Linked DNA regions of Homo sapiens: all the other regions are linked to region 1. The links are contacts of gene promoters, found by promoter capture Hi-C in blood cells and fetal thymus (Javierre and others, 2016). All regions are on one chromosome and are shown on one strand. Each heading gives the region's core, a stretch centred on a gene start or on the middle of the fragment in contact. The rest is flanking DNA. Distances are from core to core; before and after follow the strand shown. Region 1 holds the start of BOD1L1 (biorientation of chromosomes in cell division 1 like 1). Region 2 overlaps FBXL5 (F-box and leucine rich repeat protein 5). Region 3 has its middle 7.4 kb from the start of FAM200B.

Region 1 (2,708 bases), core at 199-2,698:
CGCCATTGCATTCCAGCCTGGCGACAGGGCGAGACTCTGTCTCAAAAAAAAAAAAAAAAAAAAAAAAGGAAACCCTCATTTCATCAAAACTCCAATCCAATGGACCCAACCAGATTTAACAAGCAGACAAAAACAACCCCTACAAACCAGTTAATTTTCCAACATGCTTTCTGCTTCCAGAATTCTAGACTGTACTGTGGTTTTCCATCCATCTCACTGACTGCTCTTTCCTGGTGTCTTTGGCTAATTCTTTGCCAATCCAGCTAAGTTTACTTGTTCCTGCTAATGTCCCTTTCACTCTGACATTTGGTACAAAATCCCTTCCCCTTTCCAGCCTCTCTTTCTGGACAGGGAACCTTGTTGCTGTCCTTTCCCTTCTCTACATTACTCTCCTGAATCTGCTCTCTTTCCTGTCCTTTCTCCACTTCAGTATCTGCTGTCACCTCTCCTGCATCTTTTCTCCACTGAATGACTCGGTTCTCTCTACCCCACCTTCCTGTCCCTTCTTACCTTAGAATGGTGACATGGCCTAAGTTACCTAAATCAGGCAATCACTGCTAGAAACAATACTAAAGTCCTGTCTCAGGTTTGCCTCCTTATCTTTGCGCTCCCACCCCCACGATGTCCAGCAAAGCATATTACACATAACTTGATTCAATTACCATTTAGTCATTTCTCCAAAGGATAAAGGCCCTTACCGCCCAGAAACCTTCAAGAAAGAAGGCAAACATAACTTCGATACAAAGTAAAATCATCAGATATGAGAATGAATACAAAACTGGCTACTGTTAGCGCCACTGTTTCCAAACCAGTTCCTGTAAGAACAATGCCTTAGTCTTGCTCATCAGACCGGGGTAATCACTGTGCCGAAACCATGACTGGCACGTAGTAGGTACTTAAACACTAGTCGGTAAAACGAACCAAAGGACACGCTAAGGAATGAACACTCTGTGCTTTGCACAGTCCGTGGCACACAGCTGCAGCTCCAAGAGGAAGCCACTGCAAAAGAAGCGCGCCCTTGGGTCCTCCCCTTCCCTCGCAGACCCCCAAACCCGGCGCGCTCCTAACCTTGGTGTCCACGTCGGCCAGGCAGTCTCTGCGGAACTGGTCGAAGAGCCCCTGGCTCTTGAGGTGGTTCACGATCATGGCCACGAGCTGCGGGTCCCCGGCGCCCGCACCCGCGCCGCCCGCCCCGCCCGCGCCGGGGCCAGCCCCGGGGCCCGGCGGCGGCGGCGGTGGCTGCGGCTGCGGCTGCGGCGGGGGAGGCGGCGGCGCCGGAGGAGGCGGCTGCGGCTGTGGGTTGGTGGCCATGGTGGCCTGTGCCGGGGAGGGCAAGGGCCCTGACCGGCGGACGATCCTGGGAGGCGGCGGCTGCACTGGTCCCGCCGCCTGAGGGAAGCCAACGGGATGTTGTTACGGAACCAGCGGATCCAGAGCAACCCCGGAAGTGAAAGGGAACTGGGGGAAAGGAGGAAAAGACGGTGACAACATTGACGAAAGTCCGGCGACGGAGGCCGCGAAGAGCCAGTTTCGACCGTCGCCGGGCGCAAGCGCCCTCGCGAGGCCGAGCTGCGCCGGAAGTGGCGGCGACTGTGGCGACGGAGACGACAAGACTGTGCTGGTCGCGGGTTGTGGGGTTTAGGTCACCGGCAGGGGTCTGGAGTCCCTGGAGGTTAGGGCTTCGACCCGCGCGACACCTGGGGCCCTAGGTCTGAGCGGGGGCAGTGCGTTTCTGGCCCCGCTTCATCCGCGACGGCATTTTAGGCCTGCCTCTCTTGCTCCAGTTTCCCGGAGCAGTGCATAGAGATCCATAGACATTTGTAATGCGAACCCTACGTGGATCTGCTCATTCTAACTTCGCCCAACCCTCTTCGTTCTTAGCCTGTGATCCTGCACTATTCTTGTCCCAGCAGGTAGCTCCAAGTTCCTTCTGTCTCTCTTCTGCCTGCACATACCATTTCCCCGTGGGGGTCCCTTGTTTCTGGCAGTGTGCCTGTGGATTAGATCCGATCCCTCCAGCCCGTTCTTCCTATCTGTGAAGACAAATCGACAGGCTTTTATTTTTAGGAGATTTGCTATTGATTACTATGATTATAGCAGGTAAAACATCTATAGCACATATTATGTACCAAGCGTGGCGTTAAGTGCTTTTACATGTATTAACGCATTTAATCTTTGGACAAACACTAAGAGCTAGGTCTGATTACTGTCCCCAGTTTGCAAATCAGGGAACCAAGGCTCAGATAAATTAAGTATGTTGAGTAAGATTACACAGCTAGCAAATCACCTGCTTTTGGACTGCATCATCTTTGAAATTATTATTAGTACGTGGTCAAAGCAACATAAATATTAGAAAATTTCATAATTACTAAATAGTGTGTGTAACTTTATTGAAAAATGCATATTGTTGCTTTTTAAAGTTCCTACATCTGTGGCTGAATATATCTTATTAGTAGGAAAAGAAGGGTTGAGCATCAATTCTATTCCTATTTGTAATTTTTATAGCTGTGTGCCCTGAGAAACCTTGTTCATATAAACAAGTACTGTGCCTAGGAATGGAAGAGTTTTGTTGTAGCAATATCATTCAATTCTTGACCTCAAAAAATTAGATTTGATTATCTATGAGCTGACTTCAATTAGGCCCTCCTTCTATTTTATGGAAAGCAAAGAGCTGAAAACCACCTGGCTTGCCAAAGGATTTGTTTACT
Region 2 (2,815 bases), core at 203-2,702, 2.0 Mb after region 1:
TTATAAATCTAAATCACGAAAGAAAAATTATGCTTACCTCCTCTTCCTCTTTCATGTGAGGAAGAAAATCTCTTGTAAAAGCCTCCAATCTCTCTTTCAGTTGTTTTGCATAATTTAACTGTTCATATTCATTCTGGAAACCAAAAAAAAAATACATTTTTATAAAAGTTTCGCTTCATTAATTATGTCTGGTCCCAGGAAGTTTAAAATGTGACATAAAACCTCCGGGGAAAAAAAAATAGACAAATTGCAAAGTGGTCTCTGTACTTTTAACATAAAAGATACCCATAAAACAGTAAGCTTTGAATTACTTTAGTAATGTATGTAACCCCATATTTTTAAAATATCATAAAAAGTCTAAAAATAGCACGTATCTGCCCACAGCTTTTATTGATGTATATATAAATTATATACATTTATATAATTTCTACATGTCAGTTCTCTTAATGTATCTCCAAGCCTAATGGACTGTATCATTACAGAATCCCTTTATGGTCATCTAGTGTCTCCTCCACTAAAAAACTCAGAATATAGTTGACCCTTGAACAACACAGGTTTGAACTGTGCGGGTTCACTTAATTACCGATTTTCTTCTGCCTCTCCCACCCCTGCAACAGCAAGACCAACCCCACCTCTTCTTCCTCCTCAGCCTACTCAATGTGAAGACAATGAGGATAAAGACATTTATGATGATCCACTTCCACTTAATAAATAGTGAATAGATTTTTTTCTTCCGTATGATGTTCTTAGTAACATTCTTTTCTCTAGCTTACCTTACTGTAAGAATCCAGTATATATATTTTACATATAATACATGAAATAATTGTTATTCGATTGTTTTATGTTATTGGTAAGGCTTCCAGTCAACAGTAGTAGGCTGTAAGTAAAGTTTTGAGAGATTCAAAAGTTATACGTGGATTTTCAACAGCACAGGGTGTTGGCAACCCTAATCCCCATGTTGTTCAAGGGTCAACTGTACCTGTTAACATTATCCTGCCAGGCACGGTGGCTCATGCCTGTAATCCCACCACTTTGGGACGCAGAGGCAGGCGGATCACCTGAGGTCAGGAGTTCAAGACCAGCCAGCCCAACGCGGCGAAACCCTGTCTCTACTAAAAATACAAAAATCAGCCAGGTGTAATGATGGGCACCTGTAATCCCAGCTACTCGAGAGGCTGAGGCACGGAGAACTGCTTGAACCTGGAAGAAGGAGGTTGCGGTGAGCCGAGATTGCACCACTGCACCTCAGCATGGGTGACAGAGCAAGACTCTGTCTTAAAAAAAAAAAAGAAAAAATTATTTGATGTAAGGTCATATATATCAATATCAACACTTCTAAAGGCAAGGTGCTCACTATATCTTGAAGTAACTCATTCTAATTCTGGGCAATTCTAAGGAGCTATAAACTTCTTCCTCATAACCTAAAATCACATTTCCCCACTTCTATATCAGCCCTCTCAAAGCATGTGGAAAATTTATAAAATAATGAAAACTTTTTTTTTTTTTTTTAAGACAAGCCTTGCTCTGTTGCCCAGGCTGGAATGCAGTGGTGCAATCTTAGCTCACTGCAACCTCAGGTTCATGCGATTCTCCCACCTCAGTCTCCTGAGTAGCTGGGACTACAGGTGCCCATCACAACTCCCAGCTAATTTTTTTGGTATTTTTAGTAGAGATGGGGTTTCACCACATTGGCCAGGCTGGTCTCGAACTCCTGACCTCAAGTGATCTGCCCGCCTCAGCCTCCCAAAATGCTAGAATTACACGGATGAGCCACCATGCCCAGCCTATGAAAACTTTTAAAATATGAAAATATTTTATCTCTGTTAAGTCTTCTCTGGTCTCTTTTTCCAGAACTAATTTATTCAACTGCTTCCCAATATTCAGTCTAATGTCCTGTTCTCTTACGACTTTACACATTTTCCCTAAGCATATCCACATGGCTTCCATTCCTACTTATATGCTAATAATAACTATCAAATTTGCTTTTTCATACTGGGTCACTCTTCTGACCATGAAATCCATCTTTACCACCTCCTATTCATAAATGCCCATCTGGATTACACAAGCAGTTCAAACCTAATCTGTCAAGAATGAATCTTTTTTATTTCCTGACCCTCTTCTATATACTCTAGAAAGTCAGGCTGAATCCTCATTTTTATTTCTTTTCTCTTCTTTCATCCTCCCTTTAAGTATAATCACTACATTCTATCAATTTTATTTCCTACATAATTCTCAAGTCTGATCCCCTCCCCTTTATTTCTACTAGTCATGACTTTAGTTCAGATTTGTCGAAGGTGTATTCATGTGGCAATACATAATATGATACAAAATTCAAAGAATACGAAAGAATATTCAATAAAAAAGTAAATCTCCCTTCTATTAATATTACTATCTAGTACCCTACCCCAACCAAACCTCCCACACCTCCCCACCAAGTAGCTACTAAGTATTCTTCCAGAAACTATTAGAATAATTTTTTAATAATGGTCTTCCTCCTTTAGTCTTTTCTTTATCTTTAATCCATCCTCCCTAAGCTGTAGAACAGCCTTTCCAGAACATAAATCTCCAGGTGAGGAGCACATGGTGGCTTAACAGAGTTGTAACTTAAGCTTACGCTTCACCAAGCCAGAAGGGAAATAAACTAAGATCAAATTTCAAAATCCTATAATATGTAAATGTAATTAAGAAGAAAGTCTCTCTACATCATTATCCTAAACTATACCCAGTAATATCTTTAGCTCACTGCAACCTCCGCCTCCCAGGTTCAAGCAACTCTCCTGCCTCAGCTGGGATTACAGGCGCCTGCCACTATGTC
Region 3 (2,874 bases), core at 151-2,650, 2.0 Mb after region 1:
TTGTCACCCTGGAAGGTCTTCAAGGGCAATAACATGCACAAAGCTGTCATCTATGATAACAATGCCTTCGTCTGTAATACTTTGAAGGATCTGTCTGAAGTTGTTTTACGGTTAACTTTTGAAAATATACATAGGTAGAAAAAGTATACTCTAAAATAACAATAGGGCAGGTGCAATGGCTCACACCTGTAATAAGCACTTTGGGAGGCCGAGGTAGCTGGATCGCTTGAGCCCACAAGTTTGAAACCAGCCTGGACAACATGGCAAAATCCTGTCTCTACAAAAAATACAAAAAATTAGCCGGGTGTGTTGACCCGTGCCTGTAGTCCCAGCTACTTGGGAGGCTGAGGTGGGAGGATCACCAGAGCCCAGAAGGTCGAGGCTGCAGTGAGCCAAGATTGCACTACTCTACTCCACCCTGGGCAACAGAGTGAGACCTCATCTCAAAAAAAATAAAGATAAAATAAGGATAAATGTATCAGCAAGACAGTAGACCAGCATCACCACAGACACATAAGACATCATCATTGAGATCTATGACATCACTAGGTGGTAGGAATTTTCCAGCTCCATTATAATCTTATGAAGTCTATCATTGAACAAAATGTCTTTATGTGATCCAAGACTGTACTGTAATATTTTTGGATGATCCTTTCCTTGGCCTCAGGTCATTTCCTCACATGCATACAGTGATCAATACTTACCTGAAGAATCAGGAGAGATTCATTCCAGATCACTAGAATTCTCTCTCTATGCAGCTCTCTCCCTTCTAGCAAACTCTGGCTGCACTGGTTTCACCAGGCTCCAGGCTCTATCAACAGAGGGATTCCACTAGGCTGCATATGTTCCCCTCTCCCTGTACTATGGCTTAGAAATTCTCCCAAGGCAATAAACTGAGGCAATCATAGGACTCACTTTGTTTCCTATTGATCAAGGTTCACTGTCCTTCATTGCCTGATATCCAATATCTTGGAAAACATTGTTTTATATATTTTGTCCATTTTTTATTGTTTCTGGCCTGTATCAAACTTTTAACCATTACATGCCAGAACAAAAATTGATACATTCAAGGAAAAAACTGGATAGATTTGTTTTCCAACACTCTGAATCAAAAACTGAGTTATGCTTGGTGCCTGCAGAATAGGAAATATTGTAGCTTACTTCTCTGGAAATACTAAAGAATGATTATGAAATATCAAATGCATCGTGTTTTTTTTTTTTTTTTAATTCTCTAGCCCTATGTCATAATGATGTATCATTCTTTTGGAGGAAATAGGATTGTTCATTGCTAAGTGGCATGAATGTAGTACCGCTATTGGTACTTTTAATTCTTAACCCATAAAAACAAAGAAACAGAGTTAACACTGTACTGGGTATGTGAGAACTGCACTTGAGATCCCAAACTGAAATCAACTTATGAATACATAGCACACTCATCACTTTAAATAAAATGTCCCCCAATTTTTATTATATTGTATTTATTTGGGATTATTTCTCCATTTTACGTTTATATATTAGTGAAATTATATGTAATCATAACTTTTTTCCTTACAAAATTATTACTCATGAAACTTTCATTTTAATCATAAAACCTTCTTTTCTCCTTATCAACTCATTTCTATCATCTTAGAAGATTATCAACGTTATGGGATTTTTGGGTTTTTTTTTTTTTGAGACAGAGTCTCACTCTGTCGCCCAGGCTGGAGTGCAGTGACGCGATCTTGGCTCACTGCAAGCTCCGCCTCCCACGTTCACACTATTCTCCTGCCTCAGCCTCCCTAGTAGCTGGGACTACAGGCGCATGCCACCATGCCTGGCTAATTTTTTGTGTTTTTAGTAGAGACGGGGTTTCACCGTGTTAGCCAGGATGGTCTCGATCTCCTGACCTTGTGATCCGTCTGCCTCGGCCTCCCAAAGTGCTGGGATTACAGGCACGAGCCACCGCACCCAGTCGGTTATGGTTTTTAATGATAAATTAATTTGTCATATACCTACAATCATTGTTTGCACAAATTCCCATCAGTTCACTAGGAATCACGAAAAAAAAAGCAGTGGGCCTGCCACTACAAAACACTTTATGCATCAAAACAGATGAAGCAACTGTAAGGTATTTCTGTGATGTGTAACCAGGCTTGTAGAAGACTTTTCCACATCATTGATTTTTTATGTTAAGTCACATAATTTATAGAGGAAAGCTACCTCCCTCTAGTTTTCACTTCCTATATTTTGTTCCATAATTCATTTTCTTCAAATTAAGATTAATTTATACTTAACATTTATAAGACAAGTAGAAATTAATATGGGAAGCAAAATACTAGTATATAAAAATGAGGTGAATAAGTACCACAAATAAAAATTATTTAGGACTAAATGACCAACTACTACTATAGTATATAAAGATTTTCTTGCATTGTTCCTATCCTGGATTTACCAGCCTTCAGGCTTAGATCCTATCTAACCCCTCTAACTATTACTTTCAAATTCAAGTCTTAGCTACCACACAGGCAGTGCAAAAACAGAACCACTCAAGGAGTTGAACCTTCACTATGTCTTAACTTCTCGGTCACAAAACTCCTATTTTTTTTTTTTTTTTTTTTTTTTTTGAGGCAGAGTTTTGCTCTTGCTGCCCAAGTTGCAGTGCAATGGCGCCATCTCAGCTCACTGCAACCTCTGCCTCCCAGGTTCGAGCAATTCTCCTGCCTCAGCCTCCCAAGTAGCTGGTATTACTGGCACCTGACACCACACCCCATTAATTTTTTGTATTTTTAGTAGAAATGGGGTTTCACCATGTTAACCAAGCTGGTCTCGAACTCCTGACCTCAGATGATCCGCCTGCCTCGGCCTCCCAAAGTGCTGGGATTACAGGCATGAGCC

The links. Contacts are between HindIII fragments. The CHiCAGO score rates a contact against its expected background, and 5 or more counts as called.
Region 2: a fragment that was not itself captured here is called in contact with the fragment with the promoter of BOD1L1 in region 1 in 6 of 17 cell types (total CD8 T cells, naive CD8 T cells, activated CD4 T cells and 3 more); the score reaches 10.5 in total CD8 T cells.
Region 3: a contact is called between a fragment that was not itself captured here and the fragment with the promoter of BOD1L1 in region 1, in 5 of 17 cell types (naive CD8 T cells, non-activated CD4 T cells, total B cells and 2 more). The highest score is 12.0, in naive CD8 T cells.

Annotation. Positions count from the first base shown.
Region 1 is chr4:13,626,277-13,628,984 of GRCh38, forward strand. BOD1L1 (biorientation of chromosomes in cell division 1 like 1) reads right to left here and starts at 1,449. Exons shown (of 26, transcript NM_148894.3): 1 at 1,069-1,449. The coding sequence starts at 1,311. MIR5091 (microRNA 5091) reads left to right here and starts at 1,589; the gene lies at 1,589-1,681. RefSeq lists enhancers at 878-1,608, 1,446-1,605, 1,609-2,339 and a silencer at 1,106-1,305. The HindIII fragment of the contact is 7,220 bases long and covers 1-2,708 here.
Region 2 is chr4:15,640,751-15,643,565 of GRCh38, forward strand. It overlaps FBXL5 (F-box and leucine rich repeat protein 5), which reads right to left. Exons shown (of 11, transcript NM_012161.4): 3 at 38-133. It also overlaps a transcript of FAM200B not described here. Among named protein-coding and RNA genes, the nearest start is that of FBXL5, 13 kb to the right of the region's middle. The HindIII fragment of the contact is 2,309 bases long and covers 299-2,607 here.
Region 3 is chr4:15,672,996-15,675,869 of GRCh38, forward strand. It overlaps a transcript of FBXL5 not described here and a transcript of FAM200B not described here. Among named protein-coding and RNA genes, the nearest start is that of FAM200B, 7.4 kb to the right of the region's middle. The HindIII fragment of the contact is 8,677 bases long and covers 1-2,874 here.